Regions from separate parts of the Homo sapiens genome. Here region 1 is linked to region 2. Evidence: promoter capture Hi-C in 16 types of primary human blood cells and fetal thymus (Javierre and others, 2016). All regions are on one chromosome and are shown on one strand. The core of a region is centred on a gene start or on the middle of the fragment in contact, and the rest is flanking DNA. Distances in the headings are between cores, read along the strand shown. Region 1 overlaps DLEU1 (deleted in lymphocytic leukemia 1). Region 2 holds the start of DLEU7-AS1 (DLEU7 antisense RNA 1).

Evidence for each region. The method cuts DNA at HindIII sites, captures the fragments that hold promoters and counts their contacts. A CHiCAGO score of 5 or more calls a contact.
Region 1: a contact is called between a fragment that was not itself captured here and the fragment with the promoter of DLEU7-AS1 in region 2, in 4 of 17 cell types (monocytes, M1 macrophages, M0 macrophages and 1 more). The highest score is 5.9, in monocytes.

What each region holds. Positions count from the first base shown.
Region 1 is chr13:50,234,282-50,241,153 of GRCh38, reverse strand. All of the region lies in intron 2 of DLEU1 (deleted in lymphocytic leukemia 1), which reads right to left. LOC124900337 (a long non-coding RNA gene) reads right to left here. Exons shown (of 2, transcript XR_007063796.1): 2 at 1,810-6,872. Among named protein-coding and RNA genes, the nearest start is that of DLEU2, 110 kb to the right of the region's middle. The HindIII fragment of the contact is 2,738 bases long and covers 1,709-4,446 here.
Region 2 is chr13:50,805,591-50,811,871 of GRCh38, reverse strand. It overlaps DLEU7-AS1 (DLEU7 antisense RNA 1), which reads right to left and starts at 4,017. Exons shown (of 5, transcript NR_046551.1): 1 at 3,886-4,017; 2 at 3,166-3,332. It also overlaps a transcript of DLEU7 not described here. The HindIII fragment of the contact is 1,259 bases long and covers 2,812-4,070 here.

The DNA.
Region 1 (6,872 bases), core at 1,828-4,327, 570 kb after region 2:
GCAGCCTTGAACTCCTGGGCTTCAGTGATCCTCCCCACCTCAGCCTCCAAGTAGCTGGGACTACAGGTATGCACCACCACATCTAGTAAATTTCTTTCTTTTTTCTTTTTTTAGAGACAAGGTCTCTCTATGTTGCCCAGGCTGGTCTTGAATTCCTGGGCTCAAGCAATCCTCCCATCTCAGCCTCCCAAAGTGTGGGGATTACAGGCATGAGCCACTGCGCCAAGCTGTATGACCTTTTTAAATGCCCATGTTAATACAAATGCTCTCCAGGGTGTCCATGCTTCCCGTCCTGAGTGCACAAAGATCCTGACTGTGGAGTTCTCTTTCCATAGAGCCTAATTTAGTGCTATTAATGTGGGTTTCCTTAAGCTCCTTATCAGGTCATGCATACCCAAAGGGCAGGGGGCCAGGAGGAAAGTAATGACCAGCAACCCTGGGTGCCTGGACGGTACTCCCTACACAGCACAGTCCTAGCCAGAGCTGTTACATGACAAGCCAAAAGCAGCTCACAGAGGCTGCATCCTGAAGGAGCCTCATTAGGACTGAGGCCAGGTTCCTACACCTGAACGGGGCAAGACAAGAAGGGACAGTCAAGAAGAGAAGCCAGGAGAATCAGAAAGTGAGGTTCAAAGGGAAGACACAAAGGCAGGATTGACAGGGACAATCGAGTCAGAGTTCAGGAATTTGCAGAGAAGTTGGATGTAGATCATGGCCTCTGGCCTGGAGGGAGAGAGGGGAAGAGCAAAACTGCTGACAGGGGTCGGGCACAGTGGCTCATGCCTGTAATCCCAGCATTTTAAGAGGCCCAGGCTGGAGTATCACTTGAGCTCAGGAGTTCAAGACAAGCCTGGTCAACGTGGCAAAACCCCGTCTCTACTAGAAAATATAAAAATTAGCCAGGCATTGTGGCAAGTGCCTGTAATCTCAGCTACTCAGGAGGCTGAGGCAGGAGAATTGCTTGAACCCAGGGGGTGAAGGTTGCAGTAAGCCAAGATTGTGCCTCTGCACTCCAGTCTTGGTGAAAGAGCAAGACTCTGTCTCCAAAAAAAAAAAAAAAAAAAAAAAAAAATAGTGGGCCGGGTGCGGTGGCTCAAGTCTGTAATCCCAGCACTTTGGGAGTCTGAGGCGGGCGGATCTCCTGAGGTCAAGAGCTCAAGACCAGCCTGGCCAACATGGTGAAACCCTGACTCTACTAAAAGTACAAAAATTAGCCAGGCGTGGTGGCACGTGCCTGTAGGCCCAGCTACTCGGGAGGCTGAGGCAGGAGAATCACTTGAACCAAGGAGGCAGAGGTTGCAGTGAGCTCAGATCATGCCATTGCACTCCAACCTGGACAACAAGAGTAAAACTCCATCTCAAAAAAAAGTGCTGACAGGGAGTGGACAATGATGATGATTCCTCTTAGAGGAGGTGAACAAATTCATCTCCAAGATTCCTGGGAGTCCATGATAATAGAGTGATAATAAGAAATAATGATACAGATGAGATGATCAGCTTTGTTTATTAAAAATCTTGCCATTGGAGTCCTTCAAAGATAAACTTGGGGACTATAGTTTTACTACTGTCTAGCATATGATAGTGTTTAGTAATATAAAATGTCTTTTTACTTGCTTGCCCTGTAACAAAAAGGGAAACAAAGATTTTTTAATGTCTGGTTATTTCCAGTGATTACAGTGTCTAGTCTTCTTTGTTATTTTTTTAAGCTTTTGTTATAAAATTTCTCAATCACACACAAATGTAGAGGAGAATAGTCTAGTAGACTCCCATGAACCCATCACCCAGCTTTAATCATTTTCAACATTTTAGTCCAGCTTTTTTAAACCCTTTATTTGACAGATTTTCATATATTTTTATTCAGCAAGTATTGATTGAGCAACTACAGGTCAGGCACTCTTCTAGTGCTGGAGATACATGTATAAAAAAAGAAAATAGCCAAAAAATACCTGCTCTCCAGGCCACAAGGAAGCTAAAGTGCTTACATTCACTGACTCAAACTTTCCTCCAACAGGCTTCTCACTGCTACATCTTCATCCTCTCCTTCTGCCTTCTTTCTAGTTTCTGTCTTGGGTTCATCTGGTTTGGTTTTAGCATATCTGTGTTCTTACCTAAACCACTCCAACTCTTCTTTGTAGAAAAATGTAGCGCTAAATTGATAAACTAAATACTTCACAGGGACCTTTAATGACTGACATGAATCTAAATTTGCCTACTAGAGAACTCTCTATGCATAGAGAAATGTTCCAAATCCTTATTTCTGGCCAAAGACCTGTGTATTATTTTTACTTTCCCAGATAATTACCTTTAACATTATTGGATTTTTCACATACAGTTAGATGATTTTCACACTGATAATTTGGGAATTACATTGCCCCTAAGTTAACCCTTTTCTACCTAAAATTAAATTTTGCTGCTACCCCAAAACATGAGGAAATTGAATGCCCCCAAGGGCTTTGTAGTTCAAGTCATAACACAGTGGTTTAACACCTATAGAACCCCTCTCTGATCTTTTGGGATTATTTTTATCAATAAAGTGAAAAAATGAGGGAGGGAAGAGGGAATACAGGAGAAAGGCATCACACTTTCCTGATATTTCTCAACATAACCAGCAACTACTTTCCATTCCTTTCAATGCAGCCACTAGGCCCTGAAATACAGTGCACAGATGGTGTTAGAAAGGACTCAGGCCTTGTGTGACCTTCCTGGTCAGTGATTCTTCCTGGCCCAAGTCCAAGAAAGACCTCCACCCATGACCGTGAAGTGAAAACTTATCTAACTCAGATACTACAACTCCAACCATCTCCAGGTGAAAGTAGTCCTTTGGACCAAGAGACTACAACCTTTCTCATATGTGATATTTTGTAAGGTGCCAATAATAGGCTCAGCAATGGGGACCCCAGGTCTGAACACAAAACTGTGAAAGAAATTATTGAACTCTGAGAATGTCACCTAATAGAGAGACTGCTGTGCTCAGAGTATGAGACATGGGTCCTAATCCCAACTGTACCACTGATTTGTTGTGTGACAACAGGTGAGTTTATCTGTCCACACTCCAGTTTCCTCACCCGTAGAAAGGGATACCCACCCTGCCAACTTTACCCATATATTATGAAGACAAGTTAGCAGATGACTTAGTGCTTAGAAAAGTTAAAGCACTTGGAAATGAAACACATTAGTATGCAGTCTCCTTCCCCATCCCCTTTCTACATCTCATTTTGTGTTTCTCTTGCTGAACCTCTCCAAGAAACCCTCTTAAGCAATGAAAGCAAAGCCTTCTCTTTGAGCATCAATTCTGTAATCCTCCAACTGTATTTGGAAGGGAAACAAATTCTCCACCATGTTAAAGGCCTGTTTGTCCTCCTCTTCCCCCTAACAAAAAGAAAAATTGCAATAACTATCACTATTAATATATATATATCACTATGTTTGTCACTATTAAGCATATATCAAGTAAGTGACTTGCATTGTCTCATTTGATCTCCACAAAAACCCTCTTTGATAAGTATGAGTAGCCCCATTTTACCAATGAGGAGACTGAAAATGAGTTTAAATAATATGCCCCATTCAAACATCCTAGGGACTTCCAAATCCCAGTGGTGGAAGAAGGAATCCCTTCATGTCAGAATTTCGGGCACTCTAGCAAGCCTGAAATCATGTTAATAGCAAGTTAGAGAACTTTAGTTGGAGGATTGGAAGGCTTGCTTTTCTGCATTATCCTTCAAACCTCCCCTCAGGGAGCACCTATGAAAATAAATCAGTTCCAGAGTTCTCACCCAAACTGCTTTCAGGTTAGACAGCCAAGGATTCCAGAACAAAAGTATCCAGTGCAATTTAAAAAGGGGAGAGGCACACAACAGGGAAGCATGTCAAAGTGTGCACAAACAAGCTCGCCCTCCACCACCAGGCGTATTTACAAGTGACCACGTAAATTGTGATTTAACGGTCCAGCATGTGGTATAAAATGTCAGCAACTTTCACAGAGAGAGAAGTCTGGTTTTTACACCCACACAGCACTGTACACTTGACTTGAGCGCCCCGAAAATTCCCCTAAGCATTTTTATCATTACGTATCACTCGTATCACTACACAGTTTAGTCAGCCAAACCATATCCTTTTCCAGCTTTAGATAAATTGCCTTCTGACAAACTGCACACAGACAAAATATCACGAAGTCCCCAAGTTGTAATCTCTACCCTGTTTTTCTACAGAGATGAGTAAGATTTTCCTATTTAGTTTTTTTAAGTACATAAGCAGCAGATGCATGTAATATACGAATATTGTCATTAGTGTGTTTACTCGCTTTCTTGAAATATATCTGAGTTTTATCACTACCTTCGCCCAGATTATGCCACTTGCCACAAGAAAATTACTGCACAAAGACATATTGGTTTAAAAAAAGAGGTGGTCATTTGCCTTTTCTGAACTCTCATTATAATGGATAAAGCTTTAGCTGTACTTTTGGGGAAAATGAACATCATCAAAAAGTGTAAGCCTTGTCATTTTTACCAAATGTCATTTTTACCGCTTTGTCATTTTTACCAAACTTACAGTCAACATTTAAACAAATCTTTTAATATACTGTAGAGAAGCGAACTTTATAAACCATTACAAAATGTTTAATCAGAATTCATTTTAGCCAATCTAGTAAGAGGTCAGCTCAGTTTTCTGTGCTGTAACAAAGCTACGTCTATTTTTAAGAGAATACAGTAACTAATACTTTATTCATCCAGCTAATATTAAACTTATGTTCAATAGCTATTAAGAAACATACTTAAGACTACGACTGCAGGTAGAAAAACACACACACAGTTTCTAAATACCCTGTACTTATTAGAGTTGCTAATCCAAAAAAAGTATTTGTCATGTAAATGAATATACACAGCTCTTTGTCAAGCTAACGAAACTTGTGATAAGTAACACACACACACAAACACACACACACTGGCAAAGCTAGCAACCACTGGCCAAGTAAACCAACAATAGAGCTAAGAACAGCAATAGAAATATCCCCGGACACCTAGTACCTAATAGTGCCCAGTGAATGGTAGAAACTCTGTGTTTGTTCACAAATACTAATGGGTTTTAACCTAATAGAAATGTCTTCGGGAGAATTGTAAATATGTTGGACATCAGAAGTAGGTCAGAGGCATCAATGTTGAACATTTTTCACATCACAGTTTTATTGTTTTAATTTCCTACTTGAAATTAATATACTACTTTTTGAAATTAGTGTTACGCCAGATGCTGAGTTTATTTTCACATCTTAAGTGTATGAGTTTTACTTTCAGTTTTTACCTAACGAGACACATGTCTTGATCAATATACATTAGTTCACGCAGTTGTCTACAAAGCCAGGTGCTTTCAAAATGATTATATTCTATATTTGTAGAGTACCTTAAGAGTTTTCCATTGCTTTCATGCCCATTATCTCATTTAATGCAAATAACAACCATGTGCATGAGAAGGACAGCATTATTGTCCCTGTTTTACAAGTAGGAAATGAGATCCAGAGAAGTCAAAGTGTCTGGGCCAATGTCACAGAAGTAATGAGTGGCGAAAGTGGGACTGGAATCTAGGCCTTCAGGGTTTTCCTTCAACATGCCACCCATACATAGTGCAACAAAACTACAAACCATAAAATTAATCCCAGAGAAGCTATTTCTACTATACCTCCATTCATTCAACAAGTGTCAGTCTAGCACCTACTATGCCAGATGCTGAACCAGAAAGAAAGATAAAAGCTCAACAACTCTACATGCTTTTTCAGGTGCTTTGTCTCTTTCTTGTTATCGTCATTTCCAGGAGTAGCCTGGACTTTCCTGCTTAAATTGTCCAAAGTAAATGTATTAGTCCATTTTCACACTGCTGATAAAGACATACCTGAAACTGGGAACAAAAAGAGGTTTAATTGGACTTACAGTTCCACATGGCTGGGGAGGCCTCAGAATCATGGCAGAAGGCAAAAGGCAGTTGTTTTTTTTTTTTTTTTTTTGAGACAGAGTCTCACTCTACCGCCCAGGCTGGAGTGTAATGGTGCGATCTCAGCTCACTGCAACTTCTGCCTCCTGGGTTCAAGTAATTCTCCTGCCTCAGCCTCCTGAGTAGCTGGTATTAAAGGCATCTGCCACCACACCCAGCTAATTTTTGTATTTTTAGTAGAGATGGGGTTTCACCATGTTGGTCAGGCTGGTCTCGAACTCCTGATCTCGTGATCCACCTGCCTCAGCCTCCCAAAGTGCTGGGATTACAGGCATGAGCCACCGCGCCTGCAAAAGGCACTTCTTACATGGTGGTAGCAAGAGAAAACTGAGAAAGAAACAAAAGTGGAAACCCCTGATAAATCCATCAGATCCTGTGAGACTTATATACTATCATGAGAATAGCATGGGAAAGACCAGCTCCCATGATTCAATTGCCTCCCCCTGGGTTCCTCCCACAACATGTGGGAATTCTGGGAGATATAATTCAAGTTGAGATTTGGGTGGGGACACAGCCAAACCATATCATTCCACCCCTGGCCCCTCCAAATCTCATGTTCTCACATTTCAAAACCAATCATGCCTTCCCAACAGTCCCCCAAAGTCTTAACTCATTTCAGCATTAACCCAAAAGTCCACAGTCCAAAGTCTCATCTGAGACAAGGCAAGTCCCTTCCACCTATGAGCCTGTAAAATCAAAAGCAAGCTAGTTACTTCCTAGATACAATGGGGGTACAGGTATTGGGTAAATGCAGCCATTCCAAATGGGAGAAATTGGCCAAAACAAAGGGGTTACAGGGCCCATGCAAGTCCTAAATCCAATGGGGCAGTCAATTTTTAAAGCTCCAAAATGATTTCCTTTGACTCCAGGTCTCACATCCAGGTCACACTGTT
Region 2 (6,281 bases), core at 2,768-5,267:
GTCTCTAACTCCTGACCTCAAGTGATCCGCCTGCCTTGGCCTCCCGAAGTGATGTGATTACAGGCATGAGCCACCATGCCCAGACATCTTACAGGCATTTAAATATGAAGACAAGTCCAGTTCTTCTAACTCCTGATCCAGGCTTCCCTCTGTAAGGCCCTAAAGCTAAAACACATCAGGTTGTTGGGGCAGCTAGGCTTTCCTACTTAGCATCCGCAGGCCATGTGGCTAGTGCTGGAAGGCTGGCAATGGCTAGGAAGGGAGCCTCAATGCTAAACCCATTTGATGGGTCCATTTTCTTCCTGGACTGAGCCACAGAAGTTCTGCCAGGAACGTTTCACAGGTGAGCAGACTTCCCTCTCAGAAATGCCCATCATCACAATCCTTTCTGGGACAGGAGGTTTTAGCCAATTTTACGCATGTCTATTTAATAGATAGGAGTGCTATATAGAGGAGAAAGCTCTCAGTAAAGCCATGGATTGCTGGAGGCCTGAGGACTCCTTGTAAGAAGTCTGGCATATATGAGCACTCCTTCTTCTTGGTGTTCTTCCTCTCACCTCTCTGGTTACTTCTCTTTCTAAAGGCCTTCCCTCGGTTCTTAACTTTCAGTTTCTGCCTAAACTGTTCTAATTTGCACTTCCCTTTTCTGGTTAGATGTTTTCTAAAAAGGACCAAAAGTGACCTTTATAGTTTGCCAATTTAAGTCAGAGCAATAAGTTGCAGTTTTCTGGGGCCCTGACAAGCAAAAGTAGGGCTCTCCCTGGTAGGTGCTTCCAGCTGCCACGCATGCACACACATGCAAACAGATGCAGGCACACACATGCATACCCATACAAGCACACACATACACACTTTCCTGCATGGAACCCCTAGGAAGTCTGTGTATGTTCACTGGTACCACAGGTTATCCTGAAAATGTTCAGAACACTTTCTATCTCTGTAACACTACTTTTAAAAATGAATTTCTGGGGTCAAGATCATTAAAAGGAAAACATCATTAAGCTCTTTGAAATTCCACTGGGCTTTAAAGATTTAAGAATCCAGGGATGTATAATATAAATTTTGCCAAACTTTAAAATAAACTAAAAAATTCACAACAGTTGAATTCCTCCCAAGGCCCCTTTAACAACACTTATAGATTGCTGAGATACGGGTATGATGAACAGCTATGGGTATGACAGCTCTGCATGAACCACACACAACAAAACACCTCTGTGTTCTACAGCCCTTGGCACAAGACATTCCCGGTGGCCTTTCCCCTAATGCGGTGATTTCCAAATGCCCGTCTGTGGACCAGGGCCACTTACTGATATAGTCTTCAACTTTCAATAGCTAAATGAGAAGGATTGGGCTTTATCCTTTATTTTGAGGCTTTTATCCTTGCTTTTCTTGCCTTTCCCTTTTGGTATTAAAACATTCATATCTTATAGAAAGCAAAGGTAATAATAGATGGTAGAAACATATTGTTTTGTTTAGATGACCTTTCTTTGTAAAATTAAAAGATGGAAACTCTGTATTGGGTTTAAAACCAATTTTAACTCTCCATGAAATTTAAAGTCTGGAAAACATTTCTGTAAGGCTGGGCCAAATCCCAAACCTGGGGGAAAAATAGCTTCAGGAGTGAATGCCTACAACCACTGAAATTCTTAAGAGAATTTAGCTTTTTAGCTTTTTTTTTTTTTTTTTCCAGAATTTCTTTTCCGGAAAGTATAGAGAATGAGGATGGTAGAGGACTCATCACTATAGTTTCCTCTCTTTCCCCAACATCCACAGACGTATCAATGGTCTGAATGTAATGTCCTCTTAAAATATGAAGCAGAAAATGGGTTAGGTTAAAAAAAAAAAAGTGCTACCCCAAGCATCATGAGAAAGCTGCTTCTGTTGTTGATCTGTTCTTGTCCCTGCTGGCTCAAAGGATCATGTGTGACACTGTGTCACAAACAGAGTCCCTAACGTGTTTACTTTTCCCTGACAAATACTATAAATTTTCTTCTTGTGGTGAATGAACATTGTTTATGCAGCTGTGTTCCTTAAATCAATACTGACTTTCTGTCCCACTGTATCTTTTTTGCAAAGACACTTAAGGAGAACTTTCTCCTGGCATTTGGGGAGAACTTTTCAAGTCAGACCTCCTAATTAGGAACAATCATTGTGCACTGGATCCACCAAAAAGAAAAAAGTGTTTTTGGCCTGGTTAAGTGTTTCCATCTTGGGTTACAGCCTTCATCTAAAGCAGCTTCTCCCTTGGCCTGAATGGGCTTTTCCGTGGAGACAGAAGGTAAGATTGCATGCTGGCTGACCCAACAGAGATCCAGAACAAACTCTCAGGAAATCTCAACCCCTCAGGCAGTTGAATTCTCACTCCTCTGAGACCAGCTGAGGTTATTTTACTTCATTTAACTAGCCAGATGATAGGTTGACTGATGGGGCCATTATGTCCGGCGTCAAGTAATTTTAGAATGAAAATTATGCAATAGGTTAGACCACAGCTCAATTTTTATCACCCCAATTGCATACAACGTCCCTAATGTGATTGCCTTTGGGCTAAGATGGAAAGAAATGTTCAGTCCCAAAGTGGCTATATTTTCTGGAATAGATTGAGTGAAACGTCTCTTTTTTTCAACCAAAACACATGGAAATAAATTTCTTCGGTTTTACTTTCTAAATATCTGGTACAAGGTAAAAACTGCAGTGATTAATATGTCCTATGGGGCTGCCGGTTGGTGAGGAAAGGTTGTCAAACTTTAGATAACTCCACCAAGTTGCTATTATCATTTTTAGGCCTGGGTCAGTCAAGTAGGTAGACAAGCTTCTTGACATGTGGAATTGACTGGGACACTGGTAATTGATCCTATTTAAGAAAATGTCCTCAACGCAATGATTTTGCTTAAGTACCTTCTTATTTTAAATGTACCCCAGGACACCATAGTTGTTTCTCTCTGTGGCTTTTTAATTTCCCTTTTTGTTCCAACTGACCTTTCTAAGTTTTTTTTTTTCCTTCTGAAATAAAGAATTCTAAACTCATGATTTTACAGAAAAGCTCAGTTTGCAAGAATATCAGCAATTTCTTATTTAAATATCTTCTACTATACCCAATTGCTAGAGCATAACTCTTGGCTCCTAAACCCAATTTATAAATCAGTCATCCTTTCCACCCCTACTCACCCCAAATTTGTTCTTCTTCCTGGTGTTGCTGTCTTATTTCTTGGCACCCTCATCTACTCAACAGCAGCAGAAGAAAAGAAGAAACTTCATAGTTGGAGGATCTTCCTTCTATCTATTTATTCATCCATTCACTCAACACATATCTGTGTCAGATACTGCTCCAGGTACTAGAGACAAGCATGTACAGGACAGATATGGAACTCTGTTCTCACAGTGATTATACAGCGATTATATTCAAGTACATTTCTTCTAGAAACACTTGGTACTTCTTGCAGGGACCCCCAACCTCATATAAGTATATATACTTAAATATGTCTAACAGATCTTGATATATTACATATTTAAGTAAATAATGATAGAAAATGAATATTCTTACATGGATGCCCCAATTTCTTTCAGCTGCCTCAGATACTCACTGGATAGTGATAGCCAATGATATGCCAGACTTGATATTGATTGATAATGTTATGGCCCCACCAGGGAAGGTTAGAAGAATGGAAGCTGCTTATTTCAAATTTGAATGAGCAATCAAACATTCCTGTTCTGATTAATGTTTTTTTGCCTTGATGCACATATAAGAACTGGGACTAGCAGAAAGGGTTTAGCTTAGGACTGTGGAGAAATGCTTTTCTTCATTTCTGATAAAGCTCCATTTGCTGTTTGATCCTGTCTTCTTGATCTCCCAAGTTCCTGATAAGTCTACAAAGCTAAAACACTCACAGTTTGATCATTAGTAGTGTAGATCTTCCTCTCATTCAATGGAAGTCTTCTCTTGGAGGTCAGCAGTAAATGTCTCATTGCCGTGACCCACTGGTCAGTCCTTATGCCTCTTCATCTTTGCACATGCTGATCCCTTTCTCAGAAAGAAAGTCCCTTTAGCCAGGCATCATCTCCTTTGAGAAGCTTTCGCTGACCTCAGACTGGAGAACTCTATTATAGCATTTGACACTCCCCACAAAGGGGAGAACAGTAAGTTGCAGTCTGATGAAGTCATATGATGCCCGGGCTGGCTTATGAGTAAAGAGGTGAGAAGGTCTCCTACTGAAACAGATTTTCCCTCTTTCTTCCCCTTACAATAGCCTTTCAAAGTTCTTGAAATGTCCATTAAGGAATTCCTATACTTTACTTTTGATTTCACAATTTCTCAGTCAAAAGCTCAATATCATTGCATAGGATAATACATTACCTTAAAAAAAAAAACACCAAAAAAACCTCAACACTCAAAGATTAAATTTGTGTTTGGAAAAGGCTTTATAGGCAGTGGTACCTGGAAACTGGTGCTTGAGAGAAGCAGGAGGAGGGAGGGGAGATGTCAAATACCATCTTTTAAAAAATTTGTTTGTTTTTGATGACCATCTTTAAGAGATTTTTAAATGCCATGTATGAATTCAAGAAAGAGAATAAAGCAGGATTCTAAGAAATAATAGAAAGCTTCTTAAGGAAGCCGGTATAGTATCATTTTATATCTCTGATATTTCTGCTCATCTACTAAAGCTCATTAAAACCTATTAATGATTAGGAAATACTTATGTTTTATGAAATGTATAAAAAAATTTAAAGATAACAATCTAAACTCTCTTTAAAAATTAATTTTTATATATATCTTAACACCATTTAACACACTTAATTTTAGTACTTCTTTACTAAAGTTTGCGGAGGCAGACTACTCTTAAAAGTAGGAAAAAAAAAGGCAGAGGAGCAGACCGACTTTTTTTTTTTTTTTTTTTTTTGAGAGGGAGTCTAGCTCTGTCACCCAGGCTAGAGTGCAGTGAGTCTAGCTCTGTCACCCAGGCTGGAGTGCAATGGTGCGATCTCTGCTCATTGCAACCTCCACTTCCCAGGCTCAAGCAATTCTCCTGCCTCAGCCTCCCGAGTAGCTGGGATTACAGACTTCTGAAATTCTGAATAGTATAAATACAACTGGAATTACACTTTATTTTTAAATATACATTTCTAGGTAAAAACATAATTAAAGATCAAATAATTTTGGTTAAATTTTAAAATAAGCCCAATATGTAACTAAATAAGTCTTAGCAGAAAAATGTGAGGATAAAGTTGAGATTGCTCCTATTTTTTAATATTTATAGCATTTATTTATTTGTAATTACTTGTGAAGTTTCAAGTATTAAATATTACTCCGAGCTGTCTAATATGAGTCAGAATTTAGGGCAATAGAAAATATAAAACAAATTTTTCCTTACTAATACATGTTTTTTAAAAAGTTGTGTTTATGTTCTTCATTGAGAACTAAATAATCACTAAAAGAATTGCAGAAGTCATAAAATCATTAAATTAAGGAGAGAAAATCTCTATATATTCAGGATAAAGACATTTAGTATGCTAAGATCTCTATCCAATGGTCAAAAAACAACCAACCAAAGATGAAAATAAAAAATAATTTCTTGGAATATTATCTGAGGACTTCCAATTTTAACATGCAGAGCTAAGTGAGTATTTTCTTATTCATATCTCAGAAAAACCAACCAAAACATCAAGGGAATCAAGAAAAACAGTAATGCAAAGCTTATCCTTTGTAAAACTAGGAAACAACAGAGATTTTTAAATGAGAGAGAGAGAAGACTTAGTGGCATAGGACATAGGAAGTACCAGAGTGAAGATGCCTGTGGATTCTGAGCTTCAAGAAAGTCATAAAAGCACAATTCTAAGTGATACATACTGAAATGTAAATGGAGGTTTTTACAATAGAGGGCAGCAAACCACTTCTTATACAACCAAATAGTAAATATTTTAGAATTTCTGGGCCATATGGTCTCTGCCATAACTATCAAATTCTGCCACTGTAGTGCTGAAGCAACCATGTACAATAAACAAATGGGCATATCTATATTCCAATAAAACTTTACTTCCCAAAAAAGAAAGCTAGCCAATGGGCTATAGTTTGCTGATATTTGTTCTCTAGCAATAAGGGTGTGTCAGCTTGACTGAGTGCTTCCCTGGGCCTCAAAGTGGTGAGGTTTCTAGAAAAAGGAAAGGCGATAAAGCTGAATGAGAAGTGGTAGGAAACTGCACAAAGAAGACAGGGCATTGCTGAAAGCATAGCTAGACATGTGGAAGACGGAATTAGAAAAAAATGAGTAAAAAGAATAAATAAAAAA